Linked DNA regions of Homo sapiens: region 2 is linked to region 1. Evidence: promoter capture Hi-C in 16 types of primary human blood cells and fetal thymus (Javierre and others, 2016). All regions are on one chromosome and are shown on one strand. The core of a region is centred on a gene start or on the middle of the fragment in contact, and the rest is flanking DNA. Distances in the headings are between cores, read along the strand shown.

Region 1 (3,901 bases), core at 672-3,171:
ACGCCCAGCTAATTTTTTTGTATTTTTAGTAGAGAGGGGGTTTCACCGCGTTAGCCAGGATGGTCTCGATCTCCTGACCTCGTGATCCACCCGCCTCGGCCTCCCAAAGTGCTGGGATTACAGGCGTGAGCCACCGCGCCCAGCCTGGGCAAGATATTTTTAAAACCCCAGAGTCCACGGCATTAAGTTTATTTACCAAGTCATGGGTCAATTTATGTAAAAACAACCTGAGATTGAAAAACAAAATATCTTGGTACTAATTTCCTAAACATTTATATGCAAAAGCAAGTATTTGTCTTTGTTAAACTCCTACTACGCTAGAAATGGAAGTTGGGACTATCTATCTTCCTATCTTCAAATAATAATCAGAGATAACACTTACCAGGCATTACTGCACACTGTATGCTCCACAGAATCCTTGCAATAACCCTATCAGTGGTACATCATGCCAATTCCACAGAGGTAGACAAAAAGCAGTGAGGCTAAATAAACCTGCTGTAGGTCACACATCGGTGGCCCCAGGATCTGAACACAGGCAGCCTGGCACCAACGCCCTCTCAAAGAGGTTGCTACCTACCAAGGCAGTCAAGACAAATTCCCGTTTAGAAAGCAGGGAAGCTGGGCCGGGCGCGGTGGCTCGCGCCTGTAGTCCCAGCACTTTGGGAGGCCGAGGCGGGTGGATCACTTGAGGTCGGAAGTTCAAGACCAGCCTGGCCAACATGGAGAACCCCCGTCTCTACTAAAAATACAAAAATTAGGCCGGGCGAGGTGGCTCACGCCTGTAATCCCAACACTTTGGGAGGCCGAGGCGGGCGGATCACCTGAGGTTGGGAGTTCGAGACCAGCCTGACCAACATGGAGAAATCTCGTCTCAACTAAAAATACAAAATTAGCTGGATGTGGCCGGGCGCCGTGGTTCACACCTGTAATCTCAGCACTTTTGGAGGCCGAGGCAGGCCGATCACTTGAGGTCAGGAGTTCGAGACCAGCCTGGGCAACATGGTGAAACCCCGCGTCTACCAAAAATACAAAAATTAACCGGGCGTGGCAGCGGGCGCATGTAATCCCAGCTACTCGGGAGGCTGAGGCAGGAGAATCGCTTGAACCCGGGAGGCGGAGGTTGCAGTGAGCCGAGATCGCGCCACTGCACTCCAGCCTGGGCAACAGCGTGAGACCACCTCAAAACAACAAACAAAATCAGAGAGGCTAATGCAAAAGCCTAGTGCCATGGTACCGCATGACAAAGCTAGGTTCGGTGGAAACATGGAAAACCAGATCTTTGAGTGAGCGATAAACTTCATTCCTGGGCCTCAGTCTCCCTTCGGCTCAGGGAGAAAATGAGCATCACAGGCTGTTTCAGGCTGATGTCCCTAGATGCTACATATTTGGCAAAATCTGCCCCTTTATGGTTACCTAGCGGCGATGGAGTGGGGAAGCCCCAAGTTTAGAAAAGAAAGAGCGGTAGGCGGAGGTGAGACGTCTAAGAGGCCGCCGCAAGCCGGCCTCCAGGAGGCGCCAGGGCTCGCGCGCCCCGCCTCGCAGGGAGCAGCCAGTTCGGGGTTCGCACGGCCAGCCGCTGCCGCTGCCGCCGTCGCCCCTCGCCCCTCGGCCCCCGCAGCCCGGGCTCCGTGAGCCCGCCTGGGGGACGTCTGCTCGCCCCTTCTGCGGCCACTGACCCGACAGCCTGGGCTCCTCGCTCTGGCCCGGGCTCCTAGCTCCCACCCCTCACCCTCACCGCTGCCTGCGCGCTCCCCGGGGCCCAGGCTCCGCGCGCCCAGCCACGATCACCCACCCTCCTTTCACACTCACTGGCAATTGCAGCGGCCTGTCGCTGGGTGCGACCGTCATGTCGGAATCCGAGTCGGAAAGCTGCCCATCTTCCATATCGCCGACCTCCAACGCCATCTTCCCGCGGTGCGCTGCGCTGCACAGCGGCGGGTCAGGAGAGCACTTCCGGCGGGGCAGCCGGAAGGCCCGGCGGCTCGGCTGCTCGGGCGCCCCCGCGCGGAGGCCAGCCTGTCCCAGCGGCCTGAGGCGTCCCATTGCATTCCAACTACCCCGGGAAAATGAATCCCTTGTTCCCCCAACACTTTTCTTCCAAACTTTATTTTCGTGCAAACATAAATATGTCACGTATCGCGGTCGTCTGGGATTCCTCCCTTGGCCGTACATCCTTCCCCTGTATGCTCTGGACAAGCCTCCCCGCTTCTGTTCTTGCTCCTCCACAATCCACTCTACATATTGCTTCCAGGGAAGCCTTTCAAGCTGTATAGTCCGCCCTCTGTATCCACTCCCCATCCACGGATGCCGAACCTGCGGATGGGAAGGACCCACCGTGCACCCCCACATAATGTAAGGGGCTTGAGCATGGCGGATGTTGGTATCTGTGGGGGTCCTGAAAACAATGACCCGCGGATACCTAGGGAGGATTGTACCTTAGCTCGAATCTTCCAAGTGCATCCCTCCCCAAAACAAGGACTGAGTTCTCAGCATGGTGTTTGAAATGTTTGTTTTCCGGTGTCGTAAAGAAATAGCAACATAAATTTAACTTACTGAATAAGGCCATTTTTACTTTCTGCAGAAAGGGTACACTCGCCAGCAGTTTTGCCAGGAGAGTACACTGAACAAAAGGAGACAGGGTCATTTATAACCTGACGTGTTTACCTTACTGCTGTGGCTGGTTTTTATTGGCTGGACCGGACCTCACATTTTGTATTTGTCCCGATTGGCTAGCAACTTAGAACTTTTTAAAAGAGGCAAAGGTAGAGGAGAACAAAGGAAGGAGGAAGTAACTTGTGGAATGCTGAGAAAGATGAAAACACTTTTAAATAAGGAAGAGGAACAGGCTATGACCTAATGCTTGCTTGGACTAGTAAAAGCATGCCAGGGCAAATATTTAGGCTAAATTGTGGGAGCTAAGAACATAAAGTACATTTTTTTTTATTATGGCTAGCAGATATTTAAGAATGTTAGCACAGATCTTTGAATAAATTTTGCTTTTAAGAGAAGTTACTATTTATTCCTAATTAGACGGGGAGGAAAGTTTTTGAAGAGGAACCTCTGTTTTACTTTGCCACATGGCAAACAAGGTCATGTGGACTGGGCATCTGGTCACTGGTCCTAGTGTGTCCCCCTGCCTAACCGCTGGCGCGCTGAACCTGTTGTTCCTCAGGCCAGGCCTCTGCATTTGCTGTTCACTCGGCCTGAGAGGCCCTTCCCTCAACCCACCCCATTCTTTAAGGGTTATCTTGGAACCCGCCTTTGCGAAAATTATAACAGTGAGAAAATTATGGCAGTGGGAGAGATCTGATCTAGCCAACCCCTATCTTGCTTTTAGCCTTCAAGCTGCCCTTAATTATTCCTGTGCTTGGGCCTGTCAATGTAACTTTGGGAGACATTTAGTTTATAGTTTAAATGATAATAACCCTTCCCCAAAAGCCAACCGCCTTTGTAAAGCTAGTAAGAGACCACCAGGGTAGACGGATAAAGGAGGCTGAATTCTGCTAAGGTGTAGACATAAACCGTTGCCAGTCATTATCCCAGAGGTCACAAGGTATGCAACTTTTCCATTACTCTTCCAGATAATATCACTATTGTAGACCCTAAGATTGGCGTTTTGAGATATCTTTTCAGATATTTTGCATGTCTGACTACCAATGGTTCCACCTGAACCTCTAACCGCTTCTGGGTTCCCACACAGAAGTTGTCGAGCTGCTTGAGGACAATTTCCCATACCCCTATGACTGCATCCCCAACCAATAAGCAGCAAGAACCCATTGCTTAGCCACTCCATCCCTTCCCCAAACTATCTTTGAAAAACACTAGTCCCTGAATTCTCCAAGAGATTGATTTGAGTAATAACTCTGTCTCCCACGTGGCATGGGTGGCCTCCTGTCTATTA
Region 2 (3,901 bases), core at 997-3,496, 630 kb before region 1:
CAGATAGCTTTCAAAGTTAATGTAATGTCCAGGAATAAATGAAAAGTTGATTCCCACCTAGATGCAACAGGAAACCTCTCAACCCTATTACTAGGGCCACCTGCTTCAGCCTTGATTAAACGAAGTGAAGGAAAAAAGGAAGTGGGCAGCCCAGAGTTAAGCTGGCCATGACAAATGAGCTCCCGGTAAGACTGTATACTCCAAATCTCCAATTTCTAGCATCCTCTACTGTGCTTTCTTTTTGCTTTTCATCTTTCTTTCCATTCTTAATCTAATGGGAAAAAAAGTGAATAATAAAGTATGAATACTATTATTCATTAACCTTAAGTGCCTTCTCACTGTCCACCCAGTTAAGCATATGAAGGATGATTTATTGAACTATTAATTTGTGCTTTTTATTGCCAGTGTTTTCGTCTCCTATTCCAAGCAAGTAGCCAGGCTAATTGCCGCCTTACTTCAGGGAAGTCTGTGGCAGAAGCTTGAAAGCAAATGACCTACTACACCTGCTTGTGTCCTGGTCTTCAAGAGCTTGGGTTCCTGAAGTGGATTATGCTGGAGGAACACAGGTAGAAGCAGAAGTAACAAAGGAGAGAAGGAGACTGCCCTACTGCCCTATACCAGGAAGGTGTGGTGGTTTCCACAATCATCAAGGGGCCTGTGTCCTACTTCTAGCAGAACCTGGGGAAGAAGACAAGGATTCTGCGGAGCCTAACTGTGTGGTGAAGCTAGGGAGGCTGTACCCTTGGCAACAGGGCTTCCATTGTGAAGAAAGATGCCTGCAGGCCAAGAAGAGCAGAGAAACAGAGTCACTGCCATTCAACAGTTCATGACAACTTCAACAATAGGGCCACCATAATGAGCCAAAAATTAGGAGCAATTCTCCTGTGTTTTAAGGAACCACAAAGTCTCTGAGAGACTGAAGAAGAGAGAACACCCAAATGACAAATTAAATTTACCTCCAGCAAGGTGGGATTAAGGCTCACAGAAATATCCAGCACACTCTCCTCACATCTACTGGGGTCCAAGGCCTCAACAGCACAGTCTCCTCAACCTGCTGCTCCAGACATTTCGCTTTTCTTCCTCTGCTTGAATCCTACAATCGCAATGCTTTCCTGCCTCTGTGTTTGCTTGGAATTTTTTGTCCTTTGGCAATTTAATGCTTGTATTCATCCATTTAATAATAAGTGCCCATCTTTTCTATCTTCAAATACTTGCCCTTCATAAGGTTCTCCCTGACCCCTCTGAAAAGCCATAATTTCCTCCTTTACATCTCCAAGTTTTGTACTTCTCTTGGGACATTTACCCTGTACTACTTTTTGTTATCATTTCACATCTGCTCCTCCCAACATCTTAAACATTTATTGAACATCTACTAAGCATCCTAAAGACAGTGACTGTTTCCCAAGTACCTAGCATAACACCATATGCCATTGACCTTAGGACACTAAACTGAACAGAGCACAGAGCCTGTCCTCAAAGTTCTCAAAGTCTATGTATCATGCTCAGGGATCACAGGATTGTATGTAGTAACTTCTCAGCCTTTGTTGATCTTGATTGTCAGCACTTTAAAGCTCCATTCAGCTACTTATGTAAAATTTAAGCAAAATGAGGAAGATAATTTCGTTGGAGAGAAAGCTTCTGGATGCTTCAGAATATGCCACCTCACCTGAATGGTAACCATTACACTTGTAAATAAGATAAAATAGCAAGAAAAATATAAACATATGCTTTGATTATTTCCTTTTTGAAAATCAATAAGATCATTTTTATTTTCAAAGAAAATGTGCAAATAAAAATATTGTTACCACTTATTTGAAATCCATGAAAAATGCTGAGGTGAAGGAACTGTTGTCCAAAAACTGCTTTCTCTTCCCGGGCTTACTTCCTTTGCCTTCATTGTTTTCTGCTGCCACTCCTGCTTTGGAATTTGCTGTTATGTGTAATAAACTCCATCACAGTGTCTGTGGATAAATCAAGAAATATTCACTGGAGATCTTGTCACAGGCCACAGTCCAGACTTAATCCCTGCTCTCCCTTCCCACGCTTCTCAGTCTGTTTAGGCTCTCTCTCTTCTTCCACATTCTCCATTCTCCTGATTCTACTAGCCTTTGGAGGCGACCTTTCTGTTTTCCGTCTCCCAAGTATGTCACACACCTATATCATACTGGGCTAATGAAGGAAGGGGCACTGGCCTAGAATCAAGAAGCCTAAGCTCATTTGGTCATTTATTCAATCAACAAATATTTTTGAGTATTTTCTATGTATCAGGCCTTGGTCTAAGCCTTGGAAAGTGGTAATGAACAACATAGTGAAATCCCCAGCTTACATTCTAGTGGATAAAGTATACAGATTATCAAGAAGATTATAGATGGTGATAAACACTATGAAGAAAATAAAGGGGTTGATGTGATAGAGTAATTTTACAGGGTCACTTGGAGTGCAGCTGTCAGGGAAGGCTTTTCTGCCATTTAAGCAGAGACCTGATGGATGGGAAGGTGCTAACCAGATTCCAAGAAAGAGTGTTTCCGGCATCACATCCCTAATATGCCCAAGACACAGGAAGGAGGCCATGTGGCAACAGCAGGGAGCAGGAAGAAGAGAGGGACCCTAGCAAGATCAGCAGAAAAGGATGAGCTCATGGAGGATCTAGCAGCCATGCTGAGGAGTTTCGATTTTAATCTAAGAGTATGAGATTTATTTGATGTGCTTTAAGCAGAGGAATGAAACCATTTCATTTTTGTAAACATCACGATGACTACAGGGTGAAGAGTGGAATTAGAAATATCAATTAGGAGACTACTGCATAAACTCAGGAGAGAGAAGGGGGAGGATTCAGTTCTTTAGAGCTGAAGCTTATAGGACTTACAAATGGATCCCGTGTAAGAGGTAGTGGGGAGTCACCAAGATAGTGTCCAGATTTGGGCTAAAAGGCTTGGGTGGATGGTGGGTGCCCTTCACTGACACAGGACAGCATTCCAAGCCTGCCTTGCCCAACTCTGGGCAATTTTGCCTCTTCAACTTTGAAATAAAGGCGTTGAAAGGGACTGAATAAGTGGCACTAAAATACCACAGTTCTATTGGGTTATTAGGACACAAATATGTTTTTCTTGCTTCCCATTAAGAAAATAACACAAGATTTAAAATGACAGAGGCTGACATTCAAATCAAAGATCCACAAACCTACGTGGTATTGGCAAACAGATTCCACGTGCCTCAGTCTCCCCATCTGCAAAATGGAATCACAAAACAGGCCTGCCTCACTGTGCTGCTGGGAGGGATACATAATATATGTAAGGAGCCTGGAATATAACCGTTCTTGGTCAGTCCCACATTCTCCTTTCCTGACAGACCCAACAATTGTTTATTTTCTTTCTTTCATTCATCTCACTTTCTAAGTCTCTTGGCTCTAGGACTTTTCTCCAAGGATGAACTAAGATCTGGGACTCCCAGAGCAGATTTCACTTGTGTCCTTCCCTCCCTGGGGTGGTCGCTTAGTCCTGGACCTCTCTGCCTTCCCGCTTGGATGTAGACCATTTAAAGGGTGAGCGCCATGCAGTTAGCTTCAAGCCTGGGGACACCGGGGTTTCAACACCAGGGTTTTAATATCGGAGCTTAATTTTGACGCATACTTTTCCCTGCCTTCCAGCTCCACCCCTTTCCCTGATCAATGGGGCTAGGAAGGGGAAAAAGTGAACAGCAAAAACCAGTCCTGAGAAGAAAATGGGATGGAATGGCTGCTGATGAGAGAGCTCTCATCCCCTGAAATCCCACCAATACGCTTTTTTGCTGCCGATGGCCATAGTACTTCACACTTGGGGAACGACATGGACAAACTACAAGGGATATTACAGTCTCATCTGCTGCCTAAAACTAAATTACCAAAAACTAAAATTTTAGATGC

What was found. The method cuts DNA at HindIII sites, captures the fragments that hold promoters and counts their contacts. A CHiCAGO score of 5 or more calls a contact.
Region 2: a fragment that was not itself captured here is called in contact with the fragment with the promoter of PHAX in region 1 in 1 of 17 cell types (monocytes); the score reaches 5.0 in monocytes.

The regions. Positions count from the first base shown.
Region 1 is chr5:126,598,967-126,602,867 of GRCh38, reverse strand. PHAX (phosphorylated adaptor for RNA export) reads right to left here and starts at 1,921. Exons shown (of 5, transcript NM_032177.4): 1 at 1,810-1,921. The coding sequence starts at 1,905. RefSeq lists enhancers at 293-1,141, 1,142-1,989, 1,990-2,839 and silencers at 1,504-1,753, 1,874-2,083. The HindIII fragment of the contact is 34,757 bases long and covers 1-3,901 here.
Region 2 is chr5:127,230,034-127,233,934 of GRCh38, reverse strand. LOC124901057 (a long non-coding RNA gene) reads left to right here. Exons shown (of 3, transcript XR_007058923.1): 2 at 95-185; 3 at 406-1,811. It overlaps LOC105379198, which reads left to right and starts at 3,551. Exons shown (of 5, transcript XM_041680488.2): 1 at 3,551-3,555. The coding sequence starts at 3,551. It also overlaps a transcript of MEGF10 not described here. The HindIII fragment of the contact is 1,217 bases long and covers 1,638-2,854 here.